2 separate regions of the Homo sapiens genome follow, and region 2 is linked to region 1. The links are contacts of gene promoters, found by promoter capture Hi-C in blood cells and fetal thymus (Javierre and others, 2016). All regions are on one chromosome and are shown on one strand. The core of a region is centred on a gene start or on the middle of the fragment in contact, and the rest is flanking DNA. Distances in the headings are between cores, read along the strand shown. Region 1 holds the start of CRIM1 (cysteine rich transmembrane BMP regulator 1). Region 2 overlaps LINC01317 (long intergenic non-protein coding RNA 1317).

The links. Contacts are between HindIII fragments. The CHiCAGO score rates a contact against its expected background, and 5 or more counts as called.
Region 2: a contact is called between a fragment that was not itself captured here and the fragment with the promoter of CRIM1 in region 1, in 7 of 17 cell types (total CD4 T cells, naive CD8 T cells, non-activated CD4 T cells and 4 more). The highest score is 12.6, in total CD4 T cells.

What each region holds. Positions count from the first base shown.
Region 1 is chr2:36,349,091-36,357,027 of GRCh38, reverse strand. CRIM1 (cysteine rich transmembrane BMP regulator 1) reads right to left here and starts at 1,250. Exons shown (of 17, transcript NM_016441.3): 1 at 405-1,250. The coding sequence starts at 735. CRIM1-DT (CRIM1 divergent transcript) reads left to right here and starts at 1,458. Exons shown (of 2, transcript NR_037631.1): 1 at 1,458-1,940; 2 at 2,047-2,279. The HindIII fragment of the contact is 11,087 bases long and covers 1-6,193 here.
Region 2 is chr2:34,098,824-34,106,509 of GRCh38, reverse strand. The region is part of intron 4 of LINC01317 (long intergenic non-protein coding RNA 1317); the gene reads right to left. Among named protein-coding and RNA genes, the nearest start is that of LINC01318, 35 kb to the right of the region's middle. The HindIII fragment of the contact is 2,859 bases long and covers 2,760-5,618 here.

The DNA of each region.
Region 1 (7,937 bases), core at 1-2,500:
GTGCGGGGAGGGCGGTAGGGCCGGGCTCCCCGAGGGGCTCGCGCGCGGCAGAATCTGCAGTGCCCCCCGCCCGCGGCGCCCCCACCTCGGGGAGCAAGGCCGGGCCACCCAGTCCCAGCAGGAACGGCCACACGTGTGCGCGTCTGCGCGGGGACAGGGGCGATCCTCCACTCGCTCGCCCCCACCCACCATACCCAACCTCGCCCGCGACTGCCTAAGCGTCGGGGGGAACAAGGAGAGGGAACGCAGGGCCGCGGGGGCACTCTCCTGGGGGCGGCGGCCGCCCCTCTTCCCGCAGAGCCCTCTTTCCTCCAGAAAGTCTCGCCCAAACTTTGTTCGGCACAACCAGCGCCGAGGGGGCGGCGCAGGCCAGGTGGGAGGGGGCCCGCAGCGGGCGGCCGTACCTTCGCAAACGCCCGCTTCGTACTCGGTGAGGGAGTCGCCATTGAGCGGGGGGCGGATGACACAACGCAGCCCCCGGTCGCAGGTTCCGTAAATCCCGAAGGTGCCGCCGCAGCTCTCGTTCCTCTGGCTGGCGCACGTGTAGCAGCAGCCGCAGACGCCCTGCACGATGCTCCCCGGGCAGTTCCTGGGCTCCTCGCACTTGGACTCGTCACAGGGCAGGCAGACCAGCGCCCGGGTGCCGGAGCGCGCCAGCAGCAGCAGCAGCCCCAGCAGCGAGACCAGGAGGTGCCCGCAGCCGGCCAACCCCCTGTCCCCCGCCACCAAGTACATCCTCCTGCGCCGCCGCCGCCTCCTCCTCGCAGCCGGGCCGGGAGCGGGGCGGGCGCCCTCCCCTGCGCGGGGCACACGCGCCGCCGCCGCCGCACCAGCAGCCCGCGGTCCTCACCGCCCCTCTCGGGGCCCCCGGGGCGCGCCTCCCCTCGCGGGGCGAGGCCCCCGCCCCTTCTGCGGGCCGCGCCGACCCCGAGCCCACGAGCCTTGGCGCCGGCGGCAGCTTCCCCTCCTCCTCCTCCTCCTCCTCCCGGGAGGGAGGGGGAAAAAAGAAAAAAGTTTCCTCCCGGCAGCTCCGGTTCAACCCAAACTTCTGGCGCGGCGGCGGCGGTGGCTGCTGCGCTCGGCTCCAGCCCGGGCCGGCGGCGCCTCCTCCCTCTCCTCCTCCGAGTCGGCCGGCCCCGCAGCGGCGCAGCCTCCGGGCCGGTCCCCGCCTCCCGAGCTGCCGAGTGGGCGCGGTGGCGCAGCACAAGATCCGCGGCGTCCGCTCCGCGCGCCCCGCTCGCCTCACTCCTGCGCCGCTCCTCCGGGCGCTTGTTTATGGCTGGAGCCTCAGCCGCTCGGGCTGCGCCCTCCCCCATCCTACCTCCTCCCCCAGACCTTCCCCCCACCCCCACGCGCCGCGCGCCGCTCATTGGCTGCCCCCCCTCCCCGGCCCGGCCGGCCCCCTCCGCCTCCCCCTCCCCCTCTCGGGCGGCCGGGCCCTTCCTCCCTCCCTCACACGCCTCCACCTCTTCCCGATCTCCTCCTCCCCGAGCCCGGCGCACCGAGCCGGCCGTGCCACCGAGCTGCGGCTCTGGCCCCGGCGCCGCGGGTGCGCTGCGGATGGGCTTGGGGCGCACCCAGCGAGCAGCGAGAGTCGCGGTGTCCCGGGCGCTCGCTGGCACCGTGGCCGCAGCGGCCGGCCTGGGAGCCAGGAGGGCGAGGCGGCTGCACCTTCGGGGCCAGATTGGAGTTCGAAGAGTGGCGGGTACCCCAGAAGCTCGGGGCCGGGGCGATGGCTGCAGCCTCGGGAGGGTATCGCCGGATCGAACTCCGGGAAAGGGAAGCAAAGGCATGGAACCTCCGCACACTGGATGAGAATCCATCTTCCATTCGAGCTGGGAATAGACTTTGTGAAAGATATTATGTAATGGAGTCTCGGGAACCCTGAGACCTCTCCAGCGAAGCTGAAGTGAATTAATTAAGTGCTTTAAACGGTCTTGGTAAATATTCCGCGGGAGCTGGGGAGGACCGTTGGGATGGCTGTAGCTTGAGTTGAATTTTAACTGTCCTCATTCTGGGTTTTGTCGCTCTGCTTTCTGTGCCAAGGTGCTGTGTTACGGGAGAGAGTGACTGGAAAGTAACAAAGCTGAATCTTTCTCCCTGGAGTAAGGCCGAAGACTGGATTACTACACGCCTAGACGTGACACTACACCCATAGATCTCATGCATCATTAATGCCATATGACATTGCCATTTTCTTTCTCAGTTCACGGACAAAAGTGGTGGGTTTTCATTGTCTTCACTGATTGTCAATGCATTAATAAAGAAGATGTGTGGTACATAGTCTTTGTGATAAATCAGGTAAAGAAGCAACGGAAGTGATGCAAAATGCACGGTGTGGAGATGGTTTCTCTTCAGTGGTTGTCAGAAAAGGTTTTCGTAATGATGGCTCTGTCATTGATGGGATATGAAGTAGTAATCCGCTCCGTAGTGACCTACCATTCACAAGATGGGTACCAGGTGAATAACATTAATTAATTGACAAAAAGTGACTGTGGTCAATGGGGGAAAAAATCGATCCCGTGGCAGGTGTGACGTGGGAATGGCTGGCCCACCCTCTGATCCAAGATGGTCTGGCTGCAGGAAGGTGGCAGCCAAGTGGATTCTGAAAATCGTGACTAATGAACCGAAAGTTAATAGCTGGCAGTGCAAGGAAAGAGGAAACAAAGCTACCTTTGAAATGTTATGTTTGTGGAACAAATTCATACTTACGATAAATATTTTAGTTTAACCACTCTGTCTAATCCTGAACCCAAAAGCCAGAGTTACCAGTGGACTATTCCCCCATGATGGGCATCAGCAAACTAAACATTTCTCCTATCATATTTCTTTGTCCAAGGAGAGGAAGAGGCTCATTAATTATCATTGATTATTATAGGGCCATGAGGAAGATGTTCAACCGTGGAAAAGGGGAGAGAGCATTGCATTTTCTAGACGGGTTTAAAGAGTTGTTGCAATGAAATGATTCCTGTAGTTGGGTGGGAAGTCCGATTAGATGATCTCCAAAGGCCCTCATACCCTGTGGGTCCATAATAAGTGTTAAGTGGCAAAATCGTTTAAAATATGCTAGGTTTTCTATTAGAAAAACCGAAGAGACTGGGCGTGGTGGCTCATGCCTATAATCCCAGCACTTTGGGAGGCCAAGGTGGGCAGATCACTTGAGGTAAGGAATTCGAGACCAGCCTGGCCAACATGGTGAAACATGGTGAAACCCTGTCTCTATCAAAAATACAAAAATTAGCCGGGTGTGGTAGCGCATGCCTGTAATCCCAGCTACTCAGGAGGCTGAGGCAGGAGAATCACTTGAACCCAGGAGGTGAAGGTTGCAGTGAGCCGAGATTGCGTCATTGCACTCCAGCCTGGGCGACAGAGCAAGACTCTGTCTCAAAAACAAACAAACAAAAAAACTGAAGAAAAATAAAACACACATTGTTAAACATTGTTCTTTCTTGTCACCGAACAAGGCACCAGCACTTCAGTGTGGGATTTGCCAACAAACTGTCATCATTGCTCTGTGTTAAAAGGTCCCTCCCACTCTTGCAGAGGAGGTTATCTGTATTTCTGTTCAAATGCAAGTATAAAGACATTAAAATGTAGCAGATAACATTGTAGGACCTGCAGGAAAAGCCAAGGTCAGGTGATGAGAAAAAGGCAGAAGTGAGAAAGCTACTGTGGTTAGGAAAGAAGGAGGTAATAAGCATTGTCAAAGTTTAGCTTCTATTTATTTTTAAGGGGATATATTAAGGATTAAGGAAAGCTACAGATGAGCACAGGCAAAGGATAATTTGGAGATGACTATTCATTGTTCCTGGGACTTCAGAAGTAGAACCACCTGGAAGGTAGATGGACAGATACAACATGAGAAAGGTTGACTTCTCACAGGAATTCAAGTCAGGTTTAGAAAGGACTAGGGAGATTCTTTAAGATGAAGATGATTGTATCAGCTCAAAAAGAAAAAAAAAATCAAGTTACATTACACATGCCCTTTGGCATAAAATTAATAGTCATAGAAGCAATAGAGAAAATAGGATTCCTTGAAGCCAGTGACTAGTGGCGAATGAGAAACCTGCAAGGTCCTGGCAGCTTTTCTGAAACCAGTGTGTGAATCAGGAGCTCAGTTATGAAACAGCTCTTTCTTCTCTGGGATCCAGGAGGGATGATAATGAGGTAGTGAGAAGCTGAGGCAATGATACTGAGGCTCGAATACAAAAGTATTTTCTTATCTTCAAAGACCAGACTATGGTTACAGAAAGAGTTTGGGTGAGCCCAACATGATGACAATCAGGTGTCACGGGTGAAAGTGGACTAGGAAGAATTACCCTGAAATTGAATGGACCCTGAAAGTCATGAACGAATGTTAAGAATTAGAGCCACACATGAAAGGCCTCCCTTTCTGAGAAGCCTTCTTGAGCTTCTTTATCTGTTCTACAGCATTTGTAAGTACCTCTGCTTGTAGCATTTATCATGTTACATTATAGTTATTTAAATAACTCTGAACCCAATTAGCTTGTCAGCTTATTGGAGAGGGCAGGATTTATAAAAATGCATGCATGAATGAGTTGAAAAAGGGAGAGTGAAGAATTACAGTCAAAATGATATTTGAATATTATTGTCTGCAGCCCTTCTCTCTTGGTTTTAGTAAATACCTCAAAATCAGTACTTGAAAGGGATGGTATGGGCAGGAGGGAGTCATCGAAGTTTGGGGTGGGGGTGGTGGGGGGGTGGGGGAGGGGTTGGGGAACAGGTCTGCAACGAACCAGGAATTACGAAGTATTTCTGATGGAGGTCTAGAAGAAGAGATCGTCTGCCCTCTATTGGCCATCCTGGGGATTAATAAATTGTTGAAAATGTCGAAAATCAAAGTGCCCATTTGTTGGCCTAAGCAGAAAGTGGAAATGAGAGGGCAATAGACAGAATGTTAGTATTAGACCCCGCCTTTCCGATACAGTGTCTAGTCCACCTATAGTCACACTCTGTATTTTCTCTTCCTGAAATGAAAAGAAAAATGTAGAAGTTGCCTTTGAGTTTGGCTCACATACTCTTGGAATTGAGTTGCACTTTGTATTTTCTCTTCCTGAAATGAAAAGAAGAATGTAGAAGTTGCCTTTGAGTTTGACTCACATACTCTTGGAATTGAGTTGCACAAGAGAAGAAACCTCATTGTGTTATGAAAACGTTGCATACATATTAGAAAGTGGTACGAATAAACCAGGGTAGCAGGTCTGGCCCGTTTTACCCTCTTAGGCCATCTCTCTGGTCTCCTCAGCTGGGATCACCTATATATGGGTTCTCACTTAATCTAGGCTTGGCACTGCAGTGATATAGACAGACCCTAGTTTGGAGGCTCAACCATCTGGATGTTGGACTCTTAATCTGAAATTGAACTCTATTATCACCACGTAATACCTTATTTTTGCTAAGTGGGTTCTTATTTACTCTGCCTGTGAATGATAGCTGCTGCAGAACTACCACAAGGTTTACAAGACATCTGCACAGAACACAGGTTCTCTTTGATGTTTGGCCTAGGATCCTGACACACACACACACACACACACACTCTCTCTCTCTCTCTCTCTCTCTCTCTCTGTGTACAAGTTTAAACAAGGTATTTATCCTTTCTGAATCTGTCTTCTCTGTAAAACAGAGACAAGAATACCAACCATACAGGGTATCGTGTGGATAAAATGATTGCTCTCCTTTTCTATTGTTATTTTTAGAGTCCTTCTAATTGAGTGTCTCCTCAAGTTTTATGCTTGAGCTGGAATCCCTGCTCTCTGTTATCTTAGCATCCATTGCTGTGCAACATCTGCTGGATCAGATATTTGCTTTTTTTTTTTTCTTTCTTAGGATCTTCTGTTGGCCTTGTTTTGACAGTCTGTCTCATCTTGGGGTTTTAGCCTCTGTGATATTTTCTCAGACTCATTTTGGTCTCTGACTTATTTTAAAGAGCAGTAATTGGTAATGATAATAGTAATAGCTGACACTAATAAAGATCTTATTAATTGCTAGTCAACATGCTAAGTGCTTCATATAGGTTATTTTAAGTAATCTACGGAAGAGCGCTGTAAGACCAATGGTTTCTATTATCTCTAGTGCCTTACGTTGTCTTCATTTTTTACAGGTGAGGAATCTGAGTTATAGGAGGTTGTGTGGCTTGTCAAGGTCTCAGAGCTATGTGTATGGATATTAAGCTTAGAACTCAGTCCTATTCTGCCTTAAGGGCCTGTGTGTTTAACTACCTCAATTCAGTAAGTTGGGTAATGGTGAGCTGCTTTTCTTTTCAGTTTTGTTGTTTTTTGTGGACCTCATTTAAAATTGCTAACATCTATGACAATATCTTGTCTTCTTTGAGAAGTTTAAATACTGATCAGCGTTTTCTCAAAATGGAAATAAGATCATTGCTTTCCTAACTACTGAATAACAAATATTTATGTAACGTTTGCCATGTGCATATTTTTTAATTACCTTACAATATTACCACATTTAATCCTCCATAAAAGCTGATGAGGTAGGTACTGCATTTTACAGGTACATTTACACCTATTTAAAAGGAAAAATTGGGGTGGGTGCGGTGGCTCATGCCTGCAATCTCAGCACTTTGGGAGGCCAAACTGGGTGGATCGCTGGAGCCCAGGAGTTTGAGACCAGCTTAGGCAACATAAGGAGAACCCATATCTACAAAATAATAATAATAATGAACTAGCCAGGCATGGTGGGATGTGCCTGTATTCAGGAGGCTAAGGTGGCAGGATTGCATGAGCTTGTGAAGTTGAGGCTGAGGTGAGCCGAAATTACACCACTGCCTTCCAGGCTGGGTGACAGAGTGACACACTGTCTCTTACTTTTCCAGTAAAGGAAAAATTGGAATTCAAACCTAGGCAGTATGGGGACAGAATCCACTCTATGCAATATTACTTCTAATGTATGTTTTTTAACAAATACATGCTCACTGGGGGAAAAAAGAGAAAAGACAGACAAGTAAAAAAGAAAAAAAGAAGAAAGAAAAACATCACCTATAATGGTTTTATCTCAGGTGAGATAAAACCACTGATAACATTTGTGACACATCCTTGAAGGTTTATTTTCCCCATACAGTATAAAATATAAAATGGGATATGTATCTACCTCAAAATTGGCTTTAACTTTCACATATACATGGCATATTGATCTTTAGAATCAATAACTGCATCCTTTTTACCATTGATTGTTATTCCACTGAATGTACATATTGCATTATATTTAACTGATTCCATATTAACATAAGTTTAGGGGTTTTGTGTGCTTTACATTTTCACTATTATAAACAAAGCTGCAATATATTTCCTTTAAGCCAAATCTTCAAACACTTGTCCAATTATTTTCCTTGGCAAATACCTAAAGTGAAATTATTGTTTGTGGGTCAAAAGTTATGCCCACTTTGACATGCATGGCCAGATTGCCTTCCAGAAACTTATTCACGCAAATTTCCTCAAACACTTAATACAAGTTCCCATCTCTCCAGTGTAGAGGCCCTTCAGGTTAAAAACCATTTCTTCTTGCTTTAAAAGCACCTTACATTGTAAAGCTTTAAAATTTTTTTTAACATAAAAAATTCCTTTCACATTTATTATTTCATTCCATCCTTTAAAATGTTCAACATTAGGAGAGTTTAGCTGTGGATCACCAAATGTTTTAACCTTACAAATTGCCAAATCATGTAACCTGGCAAATTATTTGCTGTGTGGTTTTTAAAGAAAGTGTTATGTACTCAATTAAAAATTTCTCCCAGGAAGGAGTGTTTTTTATAAAACTGAACTAATAAAAGGGAATAAATTATCGAGACCCTCCACAGGTTAAGGAAATTTATCCTGCGCTTACAGACATTTTTTGGAAAGCTGGAAAAAACAAGTATAAGAAAATGAGAAGAGAGGACCCGGTCATGCATTATAGTGAAGAGG
Region 2 (7,686 bases), core at 2,940-5,439, 2.3 Mb after region 1:
ATGGACTTTGGGTGATAATGATGTGTCAAGGTAGGTTCATAGATTGTAACAAATGCACTACTCCGGTGGAGAATGTTGGTAACAAGAGAGGCTGTGCACGTGTTGGGGAAGGAGGTACATGGGAAATCTCTGTATCTTCTGCTCAATATTACTGTGAACTGCTCTAAAATGAGCAATCTAGTAACAATGAGCATGTCAAGCTATCAGATCTGTGTCTCTAATTACATTTCCTCATAAAAGGAACTAGGGCTTCTTAGAGAAATGGCTGTTTTTAGGAATGTTTAAGATGAGCCTTCATACCAGAAAGCAAGAAAGCAGTGACTATTAGGATTGTGTCCAAAGGGCTCAGAATCCAAAATGAAGAGGATACCCTGGCCATTGTTGAGACAATTTAAGCACAAATAAGAAAAATATTTGCAAGTATTAAAATATATCACATATTTAAGAATTCATGCATTCATCATATCAAATTTTAAACCTCATTGGAAGAAACTGGTATGTGGTCTCATTTGAAAACTAGCAAATAAGAGAAAAGAATCAAGGAGTTTTCCTTTCTTTACTGTATAAACTATATAATCTCAGGGTAATTAGATAGTTGATGATGGAAAACTTCATTATAGAATGAACTATTGCAGCTAGTAAGTAAAAGGAAAAATTGAATTAGAATAGCATCACTTTGTAAACTAATTCAAAAATGGGTCTGGGCATTGATCATCAGAGGCTGTTAATATCTCAAAAAGAGAAACAACCAGAAATATTTTGCCTAATGATGGGTGTGCCCAATAACATTTACAAAACAATCTTTCCAAAGTGATCCAATTTAAATTCTACCAAGCTTTTAGCTCTAACTATCAATTTACAGGAAATAAAGAGAACAGAGGAACACATGAAATGATGTAACAGAAATTCAATTATTCCTAACCCTTTGGAAAACTGCAAACAAATGACTCACTCTCTTTTTTGCAAGAAAAAGAGATGGAGACGTAGGCTATAGATTTTAAAAGATGTGAGAAACACATTAACCGATCTCAATAAATATACCTTCTTTGAATTCTGATTTGAGCCAACAAATTATAAATATATGGGACAATCTGGGAAGTGCGAACATTGACAGGATATTTGATTATACAAAAGAAGTAAGTTAAACTTTTGGTGTCCTAATGGTATTACAAGTTTTCAATGAATTATCCTCTTTTAACTACACATACATCCACACTAAGATATTTTTCAGATGAAGTCATAGCTAGGACTTCTATCCAAATAGCCCAAAGGAAGGGTTAGTGAAAGTGGGGTTGGCTATATATAAAACAAGTCTAACAATGAATCAGACATTGTCGATGCTGAGCAATGGTTACATCATCCTGTAGATTCATTATTTTATTTTTTTCACTTCCACATATATGTTAAAGATATTCCAAAATAAAAAGTCTAAAACAAGTACGTAAGTAAATAATTATACCCTCATCCCACTGCCAGATATTCTGATGTAATTGTTCTGTTAATATCCCGCTTTTGTTCTTTTTTAAGATTGCTAAGGAATTCTAATGAGTAGCAGTAAATGAGAATAATCTCATTGAGCTATACACATAGACAGATATACTCATACCTCATCATAGCATGGGAAGAAACCAGGTAGCCTGTTATCTAGGTGACTGATTGATTTTAGAAGCCACAAATCATAACAGAAATGAGTACAGCTTGCATGTTTATGAGTACAGTACATACACAAATATAAATACGGTAAACATTCCTGCTTAATGGGAAGACTTGCCAAGTGCAATGAACTGTTGTCTGTGGGGTTGCACTTTTGTGCTTGGCTGAGCTGGTTGGAGTACAATGAAATACAGGGGAAATAAGGCTCAGTCATTCAATGACAAGGTGACTGAGGCATTTTCCTGGAGAAAGCATGCAGCAAGCCTGTATCTGGGCCATTTTGGTTATAAATAATTCAACTAAAGAAATCTTCCTCACCTTTCATGGTAACAGTAATTGGTAATATCATATGTGATATTTTAAAGTCCATCTTGATTAAATGCCCGTATATATGAAATTGAGTAACATTTGAGATTTGAAACCACATCATATATCATACCCATGGAAAAAATAAACACATCCTGTTTTTCTTACTGTGCAATTGTAATACATATTAATACTGCTCTCCCTACTAACTGAAACAAATAAAACCCTGAACCTCAACAAACTGCCTTTTCTTAACACTATTATTCAAAATCACTCCAGCAGGTTATAGCACAAGAGCAATTTTTCCAAAAAAAGGCCTAAAATATAATACAGAGAAGACAGTCCTCAAAATATAGACTACCATTATACGTCAGAGTCCTCAGTAAACTAGCTATAAGTTTTTTTCCCCTAAGAAATTATTTCCCTAAATTGTTCTGCTTACAGTATATCTCAGGGAAATAAAATCTTTAAAGTATTTATCAACTATTGCTGACGCATGTTTCAGAGATTGGTTGAGTACTTACCTTTTCTTTAAGGAGAAAATTCCAGAAGGCACAATTTTAATCAAAATCTCACAAGGCGGCACATACCCAGTCAGGATCCAAATGATGGAGTCAGAACATTAATAAAGCTTGGGAACAGTTTCTTTTTAGGAGCTGGAGGTGGTCATTTCATCTCAAAAGGCAGACGGTATTCTGGTCTGACATCCAGCTCAACTAGCACTCATCATTCTCAACCTCAGTGGCCCTAGTTAATAAAAGTATTGATGTGTCCCTGCCTAACCTACAATATTCAAAGCTTCACTTGAAGACTTGAATAGGCTCTTAATTTTTCTCCAAGAACTTCTACAGGGCCCTTTCTTGAAATCTATGTTTTCATAACAAAAGTGAAAATGTGCTGTCAGCAATTTTGTTTTTGAGGGTTCTATACATGAGAGTGCACGTTAAGTAGTGCCAAGGGCCCAGACCTTGTATGTGATAGGCTACATGACTGCCTGTAGACGTTTTATTCTCTTGAACCCCAGCATCTGCATTTGCAAAATAGGATTCAGATTCTCTCTCTTCTAGGAACAGCTAAACATTAAGAAGAGATGTTGTGCACTGTTCCATTTGTAACGAGTGCTCAATCAACGTTTATTCTCCCAATTCACCCACCCCAATTAGAAGAACTCTGCCTAGAACAAATAATTACAACCCTTGTTATTAAATGCCTTGCTAATCTATCTAGCATTCCTCAAAGTGTATTTCAGCAACTTTATTTTCTTGGATTACAATTAGATGTCCACAGAGCCACTGAGGAGGGTAAAAGTAGTGTCTATGGACAAGTTAGCTGAGAAATACCTGTTTTTATGAAGGCTTAGAGTTTTTTAATTGCTAATTTAAATTGTGATCCTTTGGTGGGGTGTAGGTTCAGTGCAAAGCATGCTACCTTTCCCAACATTCTATGCAACAGGAACTGGTATGGTTTGGATCTGTGTCCCCACCAAATCTCATGTCAAATCATAATTCCCTACTGTTGGAGGCGGGGCCTGGTGGGAGGTGATTGGATCATGGGGGTGGAGTTCTCATGAACGGTTTAGCACCACTGCCTTCTTGGTACTATATAGTGATAAAGTTCTCGCGAGATCTGGTTGTTTAAAAATGTGTTAGTACTTCCGCCACCCCCAGTCCTGCACCTGCCATGTAATATGCCTGATCCTGCTTTGCCTTCTGTCATGAGTAAAACTCCCTGAGGCCTCCCCAGAAGCAGATGCTGCCATGCTTCCTGTACACCTTGTGGAACCATGAGCCAATTAAACCTCTTTTCTTTATAAATTAACCAGTCTCGGGTATTTCTTTATAGCAGTGTAAGAATGAACTAATACAGAAACCTTCTTGTCAGTAACTCCTATTAATAACCCAAGGAACTAACAATGTTTTTTGGAAAACAATGTGGCAAGACCAAATGAGTCCTGAGAACTATGGGAAATTATTGTTGTCTCAAAAGATAAGAATGCTTTTTTGGTATTGTTTCTATGCATGGGATTACTCATAAGCACCACGGGAATGAAATACCTTCAGCAACTCACTGCAGAGCTATTGGGTAATTTTATTTTGTTTAGCCTTTGGATGACAAAAAGCAAGTTGTTCACTCTTGTGAACAATACAGTGAATAATTACAGTACTTGCTACTGACAAATGAGCATGATTTCTAAAGGTACAGTGGTCACTTTAGTCAGAAATATAATTATCTAGACAAAAGCGATTTGATGTTTTTATACTTTTAATAGTTTAAAAGCAAGTTTGGGAGAGCTCAAGGTCATGGTAATTCTAATTGTGTATGTGCTGGTTCAGATACATATAAGCAACCATTCTGAAAAGGCAATTTGGTTTAACAAATATCTGCTGCATACTTGCTATATAAAAGGTACTAGTTAGTAAACTAATAATGGTAATAGAAGATATGCATTACTTTGGACGAAAAATTATAATGAATCTATATTGTGAACTTATGTATGTTGCAAAAGGTTATGCTGGCTTTTCAGGTAATCATTCACTCTGAGCTTCTGCCACCTCTGGGATTTCCACAAGCTGCAACATTTTAGTTTCAACTCAGCTTAGCAATGCCATTGCAAAAACCATTTCAACTAGCGTTCAGATAGAATGGAGTATGCGTCCATTGCCAAATCAACTCACTCAGCATGTGCTCTCGCGATTCAGTTCTAGAGCAGCTGTGGTCTACTCTGGAGGAAGGGTAAATGAGATCACTTAGATTGAAGTAGCTTCCAATCTACATACTTAAATGAGAAACATACAAATTAACCATGCCCAGATGATCCCAAGTATGTTCAGGATTCAGGAGGTTGAAGCCAACTCACCTTGGTAGGTAATTACCGTCTTTCTGGTAGGCAGAATCGTAAGGTAGATCTCAAGATTCCCACCCCCATTGCACATGCTCTGTATAATCTTCTCTCCCTGAATATGAGTAGGTCCGTGAATATGAGGGATCTTACTCCCATGATTAGGTTAAATTAGCTGACAAAGCTGAAGGGATTTTGCAGATTTAAGTAAAGTGCCAAGTAAATCAACATTGAGTTAATCAAAAGGGAGATTATCCTAGGTAAACCTGACCTAACCAGGTGATCCCATAAAAGGGACTGGACCCTTCTGGAAGAAAGAGCTTTGAACCCACAGAGATTCTCCTGACAGCCTTAGGAAAGCAAATAGTCATGTTATGGAGAGGACCAGATGGCAGGTAAATTCTTTTCACAACCATTTCTGGCAGTATCCTTCCTGTCCGTGGGTTTAATGCATTCTCATCAACACACATGATGTATCCATCAGGGCCCAGGCAAGAGACAGAAACCACATCAGTTATTTGAACAGGGAAAATTTAATACAAAGATGCCTTAACTAGATAAGTAGTTGATAACTAGAAAAATCAAAGAATAAAAAGAGATCTCTAAAGTATAATGAGAATAGTACCTGCAAGAGGCAGCTATCACTCCAAAAGCCAGGGAACAAAAGGAAGAGATTGGAAGTATTAAAACCTACAAGGGATCCTGTGAAGCTGAAACTCAGCCATTTGAGGAAAGACTGCTGGCCTGCTGGTGTCTCTGAGCTTGGAGGAGGGCACCATAGAACTTAGACCCAGATTTTTAAGAACAAGACAAAGAAGCTTTTTCTTCAGGTGCTGGAAACTTCAATCTGGGTTCAGCTGCTTCTATAGGAAGGTGCTGCTGTAGCTGGGGCAAAAAAAAGTAAGGCTGAAGTGACACCCCCAAGAACAGCAAGCAGACAGGAAGTTCACAGGAAGCAAAGATGAACGAGAAAATCTCTTTTCTCCTACAGCTCTGAAGTCTCCCTCTGGTATCTCCTGTTGGCAGAGCCTAACATGGACCCAGCTGGAAGCAGACATGGTTTCAGAGTTGCTCTCCAGCAACTCGAGGTGAATTTACAAGGGTGAATGTGGAGCCAAGAAAAAATAACTTAGTAGCTGACACACATGGTTTATATTATTTTTTCTATCCCTTATTCTGTCTCCCAGAATGTCTTCTAAACTTTCTGATACCTGAAAATCCACAATAAAGTTTCTCCCACATGATACGAAGCTCACACAGAGTCCATGAAGCTGCTGTAGAACACACGCTGCCATAACCAAAGCCGCTGTCTCCTTGATCTGCTACCACTAAATTCCCAAAGAATCCAAGGGCTGAAAGCCCCAGCCACTATGCCTGAGCCCTCCAGACCCAGAAACCACTCTGTGGATTCAGCTGAAATGAAGGAACAGACACCTACTTCCGTGTTACACTTGGTTGCAGAGTTTGCCTCGTGCTCCCACTGTCTGAGAGAGAGCATGGAAACACTAACCCATTTTTGCTTGCAGCTTTCTATCACTAGGACCAGAATTCATTGTACTTGTCAGAGAATTATCAAGAAACAGATGCTATTATGAGACTTTATCCTTGGTTAATACTTGTGCACTCTGGCTTTCTTTCCCCTTACGGTGAATTATCTAATTGTTTAAAGCAAACCATGCCAAGATGCTACTAGTTATGCGCATCCTTAGATTTAGCCTGGTTTCAAAACCTATGCTACCTGGGATAATATACTATACAATGTGTAAAGAGCATTTTATGAGGCAAAATAGTTACATAATTATGAGCAGACTCTAGAGCCTGGCTGCTTGCATCCAAATCTTGACTCCATTTGTAACCTTAAGCAAGTTAGTCATTGTCTCAGCCTGTTCAGGTTACTACAACAAAATCTTATAAACTGCATGGCATATAAACAACAGAAACTTATTTCTCTCAATTCTGCAGACTGGGAAGTTCAAGATCAAGGTACAAGTAAATTCAGAGTCTGGTAAGGGGCCCCTTCCTTGTTCATAGATAGTGCCCTCTTGCTGTTTCCTCACATGCTGGAAGTGGGTGAGAGGTCTCTGTTGGTTCTCTTTATAAAGGCACTAATCCCATTCATGAAGGCTTTGCCTCATGACCCTAATCACCTCCCAAATCCCCTATGGCCTAATACTATTGTCGTGGGCTTTAGGATTTCAACACAAGAATATGCAAGGGAGGGACGCAAACATTCAGACTATAGCAATTATTCTTTCTAGGTTTTGGGTTCCTCATCTCTATAATGAGGGTGATAGCAGTAGTACCTGCTACATAAGATTGTAGTGAGGATAAAATATGTCAATGTAGGCAGAGCACTTGGAGGAGCGGCTGCCACAGTAAGTGCTTCATAAATGGAAACTGTTATTTTGCATTCCTGTCATTTTGAAAATGTAACCAGATATCATGTTGTCATACCAGGATAATTCTCACTTCAGCACCAAGATCTCTATTTCATCCACCTGAAATCTAAATTTTGGAGTTCCTCAGAGCTCTGTGATGGATTTTCATTTTTTCCCCTGGTCATTTTCTTTTCTAAATGATCTTATGCTTTACTCTGACTATATATCATTTAAGTGTCATCAACTCCAAAATTTATTTCTCACACAGATCATTGTTCTCATCTTTAAACATACACATGTCCCATTACCTACCTGAAATATCCACTTTGATGGCTTATAGGTATCTGAAGCATAACGTGCCCACAGTTGAATACTTAGTAGTCCATCTCTCCTCGAATCTTTTTCTCCTAAGTTTTTTCCTTTCCGGTAAATTGTGTTGTAGTTCATCCAAGTGCTCAATCTAGAAATCTGGGAGTCATTCAGGATTTATTTCTCTCCATTAACATCCCG